Linked DNA regions of Homo sapiens: region 1 is linked to region 2. Evidence: promoter capture Hi-C in human tissues and cell types (Jung and others, 2019). All regions are on one chromosome and are shown on one strand. Each heading gives the region's core, a stretch centred on a gene start or on the middle of the fragment in contact. The rest is flanking DNA. Distances are from core to core; before and after follow the strand shown.

Region 1 (6,267 bases), core at 3,699-6,198, 470 kb after region 2:
GCGGCAGCAGCGGCTGTGGTGGTTCCGGGTGTCTTTGTCCCCCCGGTGTCGCTGCCCTGGCCCGCAGGTGGGTTGGGGGGCCCCCTGCCGCCCCTCTGCCCCTTCGCCCCTCCGCCCCTCCGCTGGCCGAGGGGCTGCGAGGGCCGGGCGGCGAAGATGCGTGGGGCGCGGAAGGGGCCGAGCCCCTCTTTGGACTGCAAGTCCCGTCTCCCTGGCAACGGCCTCGGCCTTGGGGGCGGGCGGGAGGAGGAGAAACCGCGCGCCTCAGTCCTCCCTTGGTGGCCTCGCCGCGGCTCTGCTGGGAGACCCGGCGCTGGCGGCTGCTGAGGCCGGAGCGGAGGGCCCGGGAGCGTGGGAGCAGGAGGGTGGCGCGCAGCCGGTTTCGCGTTTGGTCGGCCAGGGAGCTGCCTTCCCACCAGCCGGTCGAGGAAACAACGGGTCGGGCTTCCGGGGAGAGGGCCCACACAGTCTCCTCGCCGGCACCGGCCTCCTCCATTTTTCCGGGCCTTGCGTGGAGGGTTTTGGCGGATGTTTTTGAACGAAGGAATGTCATCGGGGCTCTCTCGAGCCCCTCACCCCGCCAGCTACTCTGGGGGTGGCGTGGCATAGTGAGAGGAGCGCTAAGTTGTTGGGAGGCCTGGGTGTGAGTAGCAGTTTTGTCACTACCTGGTTATGTGGCCCCGGGCAAGTCTCTTGATCTCTCTGAGCATCAGTTTCCTTGTCTGTAAAACAGCATGACAGTATCATGCACCACTAGGTTATTGTCAGGGCAAACTGGAACAATGTAATTTCTTGTTTCATTTCTTTCTTCTCTATATTCTCTCCATCCATTGCTTTCATTCATTCTTATTACCCACCTCCCTGTTTTCCGAAATATCCTTACTTAAGATTCTCCACTTTTCCGGGTATAGATGGAAATTTCCCTTATAAGCTGTTAATTTCTTTCTTTTTGGATTGAAGCCTTTTCCCCACGACTCTGAAAGAGGACAGCGTTCCCAATGTCCCAGTTTAAGCGCCAGCGGATCAACCCGCTTCCAGGGGGACGCAACTTCTCAGGTGATCACTGTTCTCCCTACCTGGCCTCATCCTGGGAAGTATGTGCTCTGGAGTTAGTTTGGGGTTTCCCTGGTGGAGAGCAATTTGCTGCTGATGTTCCTCTGGAAAGCAGGAGATGCCCACAGTGATTGCCAGTGAAGCTCTGTGGAGGAGCTGGCTGGAGCTGTAGCCTTTGGATTTACCACATCCTTTGGTTGACTCGTGCTTAAGGTGGTAGGGGCGGTTCCTGGAGATTGCTTCTCTTTCCCCATAGGCACAGCTTCAACATCTCTTCTGGGCCCTCCTCCTGGTTTGCTCACTCCTCCTGTGGCCACAGAACTGTCCCAGAATGCCAGGCACCTTCAGGTAGGTTCGGCATCCCTTGTAGTAAGTTTCAGCCCTTGGGACTGAATGCATGGAGGCCTGGTGCTCTTTTTCTCTTACATAATAGTGTTTATCATTCCTGATCCCTCTCCTGGTAGTGGGCTAGTATGGGGTTGCCCAGATAGCCTTCAGACTGGGGCATCTTCATTTCTCGCTCCAGGGAAATCTTTAGCTTACGTCTTGGAATTAATGAACTGGAAATCCCAGAAGAAGCTTGTGGGTCAAGAACCAGCTCAAACATGCCCCAACCCCTAATGATGGAGTATGCCCACCACACCTGTACTTCACTCTGTGCGAACTCTTGATGCAGTACGCTGAGCTGGGGCGTGGGTTGAGATGAGACCTTCATGGCAGAGTGTGATTTTGTCCAGTTTCCTCCCTTTTACTTTTCAGCTGTCTCCTTCTCTTACAGGGTGGGGAGAAACAGCGGGTCTTCACTGGTATTGTTACCAGCTTGCATGACTACTTTGGGGTTGTGGATGAAGAGGTCTTTTTTCAGCTAAGGTAGGCTTGAGGTTGGTCCCCTAACGGAAATGCTTATTGGATTCAGTTCTGTCACCATGCTGGTATTGCCCCCACCCGCCTCAAAGCCATTGCTTTGCTGTTTTTGTGCAAGGTGTGGGAAATCTTGATGGGAAAGGCCTCATAGGGGCAGTCAGGGTGGCCTGGCCAGGGTCCCTCTTCTGATGGGGCCTTCTGGCTTGTGTGCTGACAGTGTGGTGAAGGGCCGTCTGCCCCAGCTGGGTGAGAAGGTGCTGGTGAAGGCTGCATACAACCCAGGCCAGGCAGTGCCCTGGAATGCTGTCAAGGTGCAAACGCTCTCCAACCAGGTATTCATATCTCCTTAGCATGTGCATTGGAAAGGGAAGGGATGGAAGCCCCTGTGCCCTGACAGCTGGGCAAAACCCTGACTTTTGTCAGGGGGGTGGGACTGCATCTTTCCAAGGTAGTGAGTGCCTCAACCATGGGGTCCCCTGAATTTCCTGGCTCCTGTTCTGCAGCCCCTACTGAAGTCCCCAGCACCTCCTCTTCTGCATGTAGCAGCCCTGGGCCAGAAGCAAGGGATCCTGGGAGCTCAGCCTCAGTTGATCTTCCAGCCTCACCGGATTCCCCCACTCTTTCCTCAGAAGCGTGAGTACGAGTGGCACTGTTGTTGGGTGTGGCATTATGGGGTAGTTTAGATCAATGGACTTTCAGGTTGCTGCTCTTAGCATAGAGGTGGGTACTTCTATGTACTGGAAGAAAGGTGGGCAATCTGGATAGGTGTTTAGGGTTTTTTTTTTTTTTTTTTTTGATGGAGTCTCGCTCTGTTGCCCAGGCTGGAGTGCAATGACACGATCTCGGCTCATTGCAACCTCTGCCTCCTGGGTTCAAGCAATTCTCCTGCCTCAGCTTCCCCCGTAGCTGGGATTACAGGCGCCCGCCACCATGACCGGCTAATTTTTTTTGAGAGAAAGTCTTGCTCTGTCACCCAGGCTAGAGTACAGTGGCGCGATCTCGGCTCACTGCAAGCTCCGCCTCCTGGGTTCACACCATTCTCCTGCCTCAGCCTCCTGAGTAGCTGGGACTACAGGCACCCACCACCATGCCCGGCTGATTTTTTGTATTTTTAGTGGAGACGGGGTTTCACCATGTTCGCCAGGCTAGTCTTGAACTCCTGACCTCAAGTGATCCATCTGCACTGTCCTCTCAAAGTGCTGGGATTACAGGTGTGAGCTATTGCACCCGGCCGGTTTTTAGGGTTTTTGAGTCACCAGTCATTTCCTTTCTGCAGCTCTGAGTCTCTTCCAAACATCCCACACACTTCACCTGAGCCACCTGAACAGATTTCCTGCCCGGGGCCCTCATGGACGGTTGGATCAGGGCCGAAGGTAAGAGGATGATGTCCCTTTTTTTGGCCACTTGTTGACACTAACATTCTCTTTATTTTATTATTATTTTTTTGTGTTGGCCAGGAAGTGAACCCAGGTCAACTGCTTGGAAGGTGGCTATGCTTACCACTAACATTCTTTGCCTGCAGCTAGATCCTAGTCCCTTTTCTGTGAAGTATGTAGACACAACTGAAATGTGTATAAAAATATTGGAATTTTATACAGTGGTTAAGCAAGCAGGGAGTTGATACAGTTCATCTTTCAAAATGTCATGTTGAGATACTTCTTAAATACTCTTCTGTTTCTAGTCCCTAAGTTGAGATGATAGGAATGGAAACTCTCAATAGTAACATGTCAAAACAACTAGAACACTGCAGTATCTGTTCTCGTTGTTTAAAACGTTTCTTTATAGACACCATACTCATCAGTATGCTGTTAGAAGGTGTATATTGCACTCTGCCTGGGAGTTCAGGCCCCCGTGCCTTGGACACACAGGTAGCTTTCTCAGCCATGTGTGGAGCAAGCATGGCTGATTTGGGCCTTTAGGGTATCCTGGTGATGCTGTGTCATCTGTAGCATTGGGGACCACTAGGAGCATGCTGTCCCGTCTTCTCTCCAGTTCACATGTTCCTTCCTCAGTCTCACTCTCCCTGAGTGTTTTGCTTATACCTCTAAAAGTTAAGCTCCAGAATGATTTGTTTAAGACTCGTTCTAGTTCTGTCTTCATTTTAAACTTGTTATAATGGAGAATTTCACTATATGCAAGGTAAACAGAAAGGTGTGAGGAACCTTATTATACCCATTACCCAGCTTCTTCAAGTATCAGCTACCATTCTTTTTCATCTCTACCTCCATCTATTCACTGCTCCCACTTGATTTTGTTAAGGTAAAAAATTTTAACGTGGAACTTATGTAGATTGAAATGCACAAATCTTGACAGTTTTGACAAATGGGAAATGTTATGTAACCCTTAACCCTTTTTTTTTCTTTTTTTTTTTTTTTTGAGACAAGGGCTTGCTCCGTCACCCAGGCTGGAGTGTGGTGGTGTGATCACGGCTCATTGCAGCCTTGATCTCTCTGGCACAAGCCATCCTCCTGCCTCGGCCTCCGCAGTAGCTGGGACTGCAGGTGTGCACCACCATGCTGGAGTAATTTTTTAAAACGTTTTTTGTAAGGCTGGGTGCGATGGCTTATGCCTATAAATCCCAGTGCTTTGGGAGCCTATCTCTACAAAAAATAAGTAAATATTTATTTATTTTTGTGGGGGTCAGAGAAAGGGTTTTACCATGTTGCCCAGGCTGGTCTCGAACTCCTGGGCTCAAGTCATCTTCCCACCTCAGCCTCCCAAAGCGCTGGGATTACAGGTGTGGGCCACCACGCCCGGCCCATTGTGAATTCTAAGTAGGGGGAAGCTTTGGGATTGTTTGCCATGGGGTTTCCACTGCTTGAAACCCTGTGTCCCATTCTCCATTGTAGACACCATATTCATAAGTATATAAATATATCCAGTCGCTGGTATATATTTTGTGTTTACCCACTCCTCTTGTCCTGTGCATCTTCCTGGTCCTCAGTTTCTAGGGACCTTCTCCCTTTCACAGTGTGTGAGTTTATTAAAGGCTTCATTACAAAATCACAGCAGGTGCCTTCTGAGACGGTGTAGCCTGGGTGAAACTCTGTGACTGCCGTGGACTTTCTGCTTTACGGTTAATTTCAGGCTTTCTCTATCAGTTGCATTTGATTGTCCTGGACGTGCTGAGGCCCATGCAAGGTCTGTTGTATTACTTTGGCCATTATGCTTCAGTGTCACAGCTTCTACAGAAAGGACGTACAGGTTGAGCATCCTAAATCCTTAAACCCAAAGTACTCTCAAATCGAGAACTTTTTGAGTGCTGACATGGCACTCAAAAGGAAATGTTTATTGAGCATTTCAGATTTGGATTTTTGGATTTGGGATGCTCAGCCAGTAGGTATAATGCAAACATTGCAAAATCTGAAAAAAATTCCAAACCCAGGATGCTTCTGGTCCCAAGCATTTCAGATAAGGGATACTCAACCTATACTACCATTGGGAGGGAGATATTATATTACCATTCGTCAGTAGAGAGAATGTGCAGAGTGGGGCCAGGGGTAGTAGGAAGTAGGTCATTCTGGGGCAGCAACTTTTATTTATTTATTTAGTTTCTCAGCTTTTAATTTATGAAGGACTCAGCCACATTAATGTTTTGCATGGAAGCCAAGCTTTATTTTGAATTCCTGGCTTTGGGATGCAGAGAACAATGTCTCCATTGAGCTGCTACTGCTGTGCTGTGGTTTTTAGACAGGTGTACCCAGCTGGGCTCTGCTGCTGCAAGTCCTGAGAGGTCAGCCCCTGGTGCTGCCTTACAACCTCCTGACAATGTACAGGAAGCGGAGGAAAGTGGCCACACAGTGTACAGCGTTGAGTGGACCATAACAGTTTAGCTAGAGGCCGACAGCATTCCTGCGAGCTGGAGAGTTGTCAAAGTGGCTTTGGCATGGGTCTTCTATTAGAAACATGGGCTACTGACATCCCATCGGGGCTAGAGAAGAAGGCCACTTTTGGATGGAGATGCTCATGCACATGGAAGTGACCAAGGCCAACAGAAAAGAGCAGGCATCATGATAAATCTCTTCAGCTTAGTCACTGGGGTGTGAACAGGGAAATGACCCAGGCAGGTCTAAAAGGCAGAACAAGAACCTTCTGGTGAATACAATCAACTCAGTTACCCAGGCACAGAGAAATGGCAGTGGGTTTTATTTCTCTCATGTGACATGGGGGGTTTTCCCCTTATCAGTCTGGCACGTTATAATGAATGGTCTAAAGGTTTTTTCTCCTCAACTATTTTTATTTATTGTACCCATATCTATTGCACTTATAACGTAGTTATAGTGTAATACTGTGGTGACTTATTATAAAAATGTGTAAAGCAGTACATGCTATTATATAAAATTAAAATAA
Region 2 (5,849 bases), core at 623-3,122:
GAGCAGCCACAGCACGAAGGCCATCTTGATCTCATAGTAGAAAGGGAACCTGTCACAGCACAAGGGGCAGGGTGAGCCAAGGAGCAGGGCTGGGGGGGCCACCCCTGACCCATGGCTTGCGGACCCTGCGTCCATACCAGGAGATAAAAATGTCTGTAACGATCTCTGCTGCCATGAAGAGTGCAAAAACAATCCAGTACATCATCCACCGCACCTGTGGGGTGAGCGCCCAGAGGTCAGCATGGGGCCTGCAGCACCAACTCCCAACCCAGGCCAGCCCAGCCCAGAGATTCCAGGGAGCCTGTCCGGCTGCATAGCTGCTTTCCCCCACACATGGCTGGACAGGAGCTCTGAGAAACTGCTGCTCATTCCTATGCCCGCCTCCAACAAGCTTCACCCACCAGATCTTCCACAGGCACCCCGATGGCCTGCCCTCTATCTACACCCTCTTGAACAGGGCCCATTCTCTCTCCCTCCCCACTCCACTCAGGATGTGCCACACAGCCTTGCCCCTGGAGGAGGGAGAGGCCAACTGAGACCCTCCCCACCTCACCAAGTCCTATTAAACACACCCAAACCCCCACGCTCACATATTCACGAATGTTCTTGGTCTTCACAGCCTTATAGGAAGCATAAGCTGGACACAGCATCCCAAACACCAGCCTGGAAGAGCAGCCATGGGGAGTGTGAGGGGCACCATGCCCCACTCCCACCTTGCCAAGTGGCCATTTCCCCCCACTGGGGTGCAAGGTGGCAGTACCCGCCCTGTTTTTCTCGCTTGGCTTGTACAACCCGTGCCTGAGTCAGAGCCCTGGAGGCCACCTCCCCACCCTGCTGTTTACAAACATCCCAAGCCTGCCCAGGCCTGCACCGGTGGCCCATGGGTGCATGATGGAGTGAGAGGACAGCCACTCCACGAAGTGGGTGAGAACACCAGACTGTCCCCTCCCATGGGCATGCAATCAGGCCCAGGGTCACCAGACCTGACACTGCTGGGTTGCAGATAGGGCTATGTGAGCCAGATGTTGGCATACTCAAAGGTGAGGAATAGGATGGTGAGTCATGTGACTGCTCAGATGGCAAGCAGGCACCTGGATTCTCCGCCCACAACGTGCCATATCACCTTGTGTTTGCCAAGGGGCAGCAAGGTAGGCCTGTGGCCCTCGGCTCCACGCATCTGTTTGCAGTGTGTGTGGCGTGCGGCAGGGGTCGTTCTCAGCCAACGAGGCTTGGTGGGGCGGGTAGCCTGCGGTGCCCCAGACACCGCGTGCAAGCCCACAGGTCCGTTAACCCTTGCATGGAGTGCTGGAGGGTGGAGCTCAGAAAGTTCCTCCTCCCACTAGACGTCCACAGCTTCCACCACAGGGGCGGGACGGCACCCCGGGGTAGAGGAGGTCTGAGGGCGGCCATACTCACACCACCAGGCGACAGATCATCCAGGACACCATCTTGCCGGCCTTTGGGACGTGGGGAGGACCCCAGGAAGCCGCTCAGAAGGACGTTCACTCAAGGGCTGGGACGGGGGGTGATCAGGGCAGTTGCGGGAAGCAGAGGGGCGATCCGGCTGTCCCTCGGCGGAGGCAGAGCCCGCCGCCCACGGCCTCCGACTGTGCAGTTCAGGGGACCTGGAGAATGGGGAGACCCGAGGCAAAGCGGCCCCGGCGGGGAGGAAGCCGACTTGGGAGCGGGCGCGCCCCGCGGCCGGGGCAGTTACAGCTCCCACCCGCCCTTTCTGCCGCGGAGAACCTGGCGCTCGGCCCTTGCTGCTGGTCCCGCGCTGGAGCGGGTCGCCGCGGTTCCAGCGCGCCGGGCCACCAGCACCGGCCTACAGGGCGGAGTTCGCAACTCACTTGAAAGTTGCACGGAACCGAGTGCTGCCCAACCCCAGGGCTCCGGCTTGCCACGCAGGCGCAGTGTAGCCCCGGAGGGGGCGGGGCGAGGTCAGGGAGGCGAGAGGCCGGCCCCTTAAAGGGGCGATGTGCCGCGGGACTCGCGCGTGGGGCCCACAGTGGAGCCACCTTCCCAATCGGAAAGATTAGCGTGTGGGAAGCTGTAACAAAAAAGCAGGGGGAGTGCGGGGGTCGGCACACAAAGAAAATCTGGACTCCAGAGTTTAAGCGACCCTTCACTGGCTTTTCCCGGTGTCTTTCCCTCTCGCCTCATTTTCCCCTCTGTGAACCGGGTAAAGGCATGAGATGCGGTTGGTGGGGTAGAGGGAAGGATCTCCTCTGCAGGCTCAGTCAGGAGCTGGAAGGAAGCTTGGCTGAGCGCCAGCAAGTCCGGGTCTCACACCAGTGGGTCCAGGAGGGAAAGGGGGGAGGTGTGGGGGGAGAGGGAACCTGAGGGACTTTTTGCCCCACCAGGTTTCAGGGGTTCCCTTCTCTCTGGGATGCCTTTCCAGATCCCTGACTCCGGGGCAGGCTGACCGCGATGATTTGAGGCATTCTGGGTAGAGCTCTCAGCTCCCACACTCCTTCAGCAGAAGTTTGAAATTCCACCTATTCCTCTGAGCCAAGTACACAAATAACCCTGGGCCCTTAATAGTAGTATCAACCATTGCCATTTTGTAATGCACGTTTGCACGCAAGGTCTTAGTCTTTGCAAACTTCTTTTAACCATGTAGGAAATAGGATGCTCAGTGGTGAAAAGTAACTTTCCTGGTATCACCCAGTGGTATTTATTGCTGGCTGGTGGCTACATGCTTGGCTTGATCAGTCTTCTGAGAGATCAGCAGCTGCAGGCTGAGTGGCCCTGCAGAGGGCCATGGAACCGGATAAGTTCCTCTGGGAGGGAGGCAGATGCCAGGAAGAAGGGGGAAGGCTCTAAAAAAGAAGGCAAACGTTGCTGCTTCTACTACTTGCCCTGTGAGGTTTCATTCTTTTTGACATCTTCAGCTTACTGCCTCTGTTGTTCCCTCTGAAAATAGTGTCCCCCCACCTTGCAGAGGGTGGGAGCAAAGCTGTCCGGGCATGTGGGGTGGAAACACAGGCAGTTACTGCTTTTTATTGGAGCCACAGTTAACCCCCACCAGCTATCATAAGGATGGAATAGGTAATCATGGGGCCAGGGAAAGGAGGCTTCTGGGGGATAAATAAACACACGGTGATTATATGGTCTTAATTACTGTCATCAGTTTTATTGGTATTGCTGGGTGTGAGAGCCAGCAGTGAAACCAGCCCACAGGAGAAACTTCCCCGAGGCCCCATGTCTCCCTCTCCTCTCTTAACCAACCCTCACATTTACCTGTCCCCCCTTACACACACACATTGGAGTAACCAAAAAGGCCAAGGGCTAGAGGAACTCCTAAGGAAGGCCCCAGCCACTGTCCATCTTTAGGCACAGACATGGTTCTCTAGGTGAAAAGTGTCCTGGGTCTCCCTGAAGGAGGAAAGCTGTGACTGAATAGGGGAGCAGCTGAAAGGGACATCCATGACTCAGGAGGTCACTGCACACGTGAGCCTCGGGTCCTTTGGTGCGTGCTGCAGAACTGTCCCTTCCCTGCTGGCTGCCTTCTGGGGCCACGCACCTGACCTCAGCATCACAGGCCTCTGTCTACCCCCATTTGCTGGGAAACATTACCTGGGCCCGCCCAAAGCTCATTCAGCTGGGATGGTCTCCCGTATGGAGACTCCTGGTCCCAATGCCTGTGCTTGGGAAATCTCAGAGAAGAGATGTCAGAGGTCTGCGCTGACAGCAAGGCTCAGCACGGAGGGCAAGAGGCTGGCAGCTGAGGAGTGTCACCATCCCTGGTCTTGGCAGAGTGAGTAGACCTTGCCTCTTGCAGCCTTTGGTCCTGAGCTGTTGACACAGTCACCCAATTCCACTGGGTTGCTAAGCAGCACTCTGGACGTGGACAAGCCCCAGGGCAAGTGACCCAGCAGGCACACACAGAAAGCCAGGCACTCGGGCCAAGGGAGGAAAGTGCCTCCCACCCCTCAGAAGAGCTCCCCCCTGGGGGCAGCAGCTGTCAAAGTGATATTTATCTTTCTACTGGGCAGCAGAGTGCCAGCGTGTCTGGGAGACTCAACCCACTTTCCCTGGCAACCTCTCCCAAGCACAGGATAAGGGCCCGTTTCCCATTTGGAAAAGAAGGACAGGCCTCCCCAGAATGATGGAGGTGCCTGCTAAGCTAAGAGCATATTTGAGGAGGTGAAAAGCAGGTAAGTCACCTATTGCTGGGGGTGAGGAGGCCAGGTCAGAGGCTGCAGGTAAGATATGGGGCACAGGGGCTCCAAGACTGAGGATGGGTGAGGAACCATCACCCACAGACAGTTCTCTCCAAAGATCCACCTCCTCCTCTTGCACAAAACACCCCTCTCTGAGCCACTTCTGTTTTCATATATTCCCATAGACCAAGGCAAATCATAATCATGTGCTGGACACACTATACAAATGGACTTACATATACTAATGCATTTCACTCTCATGAGAAATAATCCTGTCAGGGTAGGATGCGGTGGCTCATGCCTGTAGTAATCCCAACACTTTGGGAGGCCGAGGACGGCAGATCATTGAGGTCAGGAGTTCGAGACCAGTCTGGTGAACATGGTGAAACCCATCTCTACTAAAAATATGAAAATTAGTCAGGGGTGGGGGCGTGCTCCTGTAGTCCCAGCTACTTGGAAGGCTGAGGCAGGAGAATTAATTGAACCTAGGAGGCTGAGGTTGCAGTGACTCAAGATCGCACTACTGCACTCCAGCCTAAGCTGGAAAAAACAAACAACAAACCCTGTCAGGTAGGTATCACGATTATACTCATTTTATAAATAAGAAAAACCGAGGCACAAATAGGCTAAGTAACGTGGCTGAATGTTACTAGCTGGTTTCACCCGGCTGGCAGAATCAGGAACCCATGAAGTGGGGTTTTTAAATCTGCTTCACAGAAGGAGAAATTGAAGCTCAGGGAAATCAGCTGACTTGCTTGAAATCTCACACCATGGAAAGGGACTGAGCCAGAATTCACACCCATGTTATCCAGGCTCCAGACCCCACTCCTCTGTGCACAGCTGCTCACAGGTGCTCGCTGAAGAGAGAGAAACGAAGGGTTTTTGTGATATGCGAGAGCTGAGAGGGGCTCTGGAGGACAAATGAAAACCTGGAGACTCAGAGAAGGGATTTGACCTGCCCAGGGTCACACAGCAAGCACCACTGCCCAAGGATCTATCATTTCCCCCGTTTCCATCCCCTGTCCCTTACACTGTCACCAACCCACACAAGGCCACAAAAGGATTTCATTTACTCAAGCCCATGGGGGAAGAGGAGAAAAGGGGTCCCCACAGCTTGACAACACCTGTTTTGCCATTCAGTGTGCTGTCCCCGAGACCCCATTACTTGCACTGACACCCTGAGCACTGTCCCCCACCCGGCCCCCATCTGACTGTCTTAGACTCTCTCGACTCCACTCACAGAGATGTTGAGGGACCCTGACTGCCCACAGGGCTTGGGTGTGTACGGTGGGACCAGGTCACAGGAACCTTCATGGTGGGCAGAGGCTCATGGGTTTGTTGAGCAGGAAGCCAAGGCAGGTTCCTGAGCAGGGGAGGACAGGAGGAAAGTGTGTGTTAGAAAGATCAGACCGATGGCTGAGCGTGGTGGCTCACGTCTGTAATCCCAGCACTTTGGGAGGCCGAGACAGGCGGATCACCTGAGGTTGGGACTTTGAGACTAGCCTGGCCAACATGGTGAAACCCCGTCTCTCCTAAAAATACAAAAATTAACCAGGCGTGGTGGTGGGCACCTGTAGTCCCAGCTACTCAAGAGGCTGAGGCAGGATAATCACTTGAACCTGGGAGGCGGAGATTGTAGTGAGCCAAGACAGGGCCACCTCACTCCAGCCTGGGCTACAAGAG

The links. The method cuts DNA at HindIII sites, captures the fragments that hold promoters and counts their contacts. A contact is called where the count stands out against the background at its distance.
Region 1: a fragment that was not itself captured here is called in contact with the fragment with the promoter of REEP4 in region 2 in 1 of the 25 tissues and cell types used here (dorsolateral prefrontal cortex).

The regions. Positions count from the first base shown.
Region 1 is chr8:22,604,776-22,611,042 of GRCh38, forward strand. CCAR2 (cell cycle and apoptosis regulator 2) reads left to right here. Exons shown (of 21, transcript NM_001393997.1): 1 at 1-67; 2 at 961-1,056; 3 at 1,310-1,401; 4 at 1,832-1,923; 5 at 2,135-2,249; 6 at 2,421-2,550; 7 at 3,194-3,290. The coding sequence starts at 999. LOC107986876 (a long non-coding RNA gene) reads right to left here and starts at 225. Exons shown (of 1, transcript NR_160769.1): 1 at 1-225. RefSeq lists an enhancer at 1-316 and silencers at 1-279, 340-399. The HindIII fragment of the contact is 3,562 bases long and covers 3,168-6,267 here.
Region 2 is chr8:22,140,035-22,145,883 of GRCh38, forward strand. REEP4 (receptor accessory protein 4) reads right to left here and starts at 1,873. Exons shown (of 8, transcript NM_025232.4): 1 at 1,417-1,873; 2 at 591-663; 3 at 138-214; 4 at 1-49. The coding sequence starts at 1,448. RefSeq lists enhancers at 1-254, 255-862 and silencers at 1,627-1,776, 1,787-1,916. The HindIII fragment of the contact is 4,498 bases long and covers 1-4,257 here.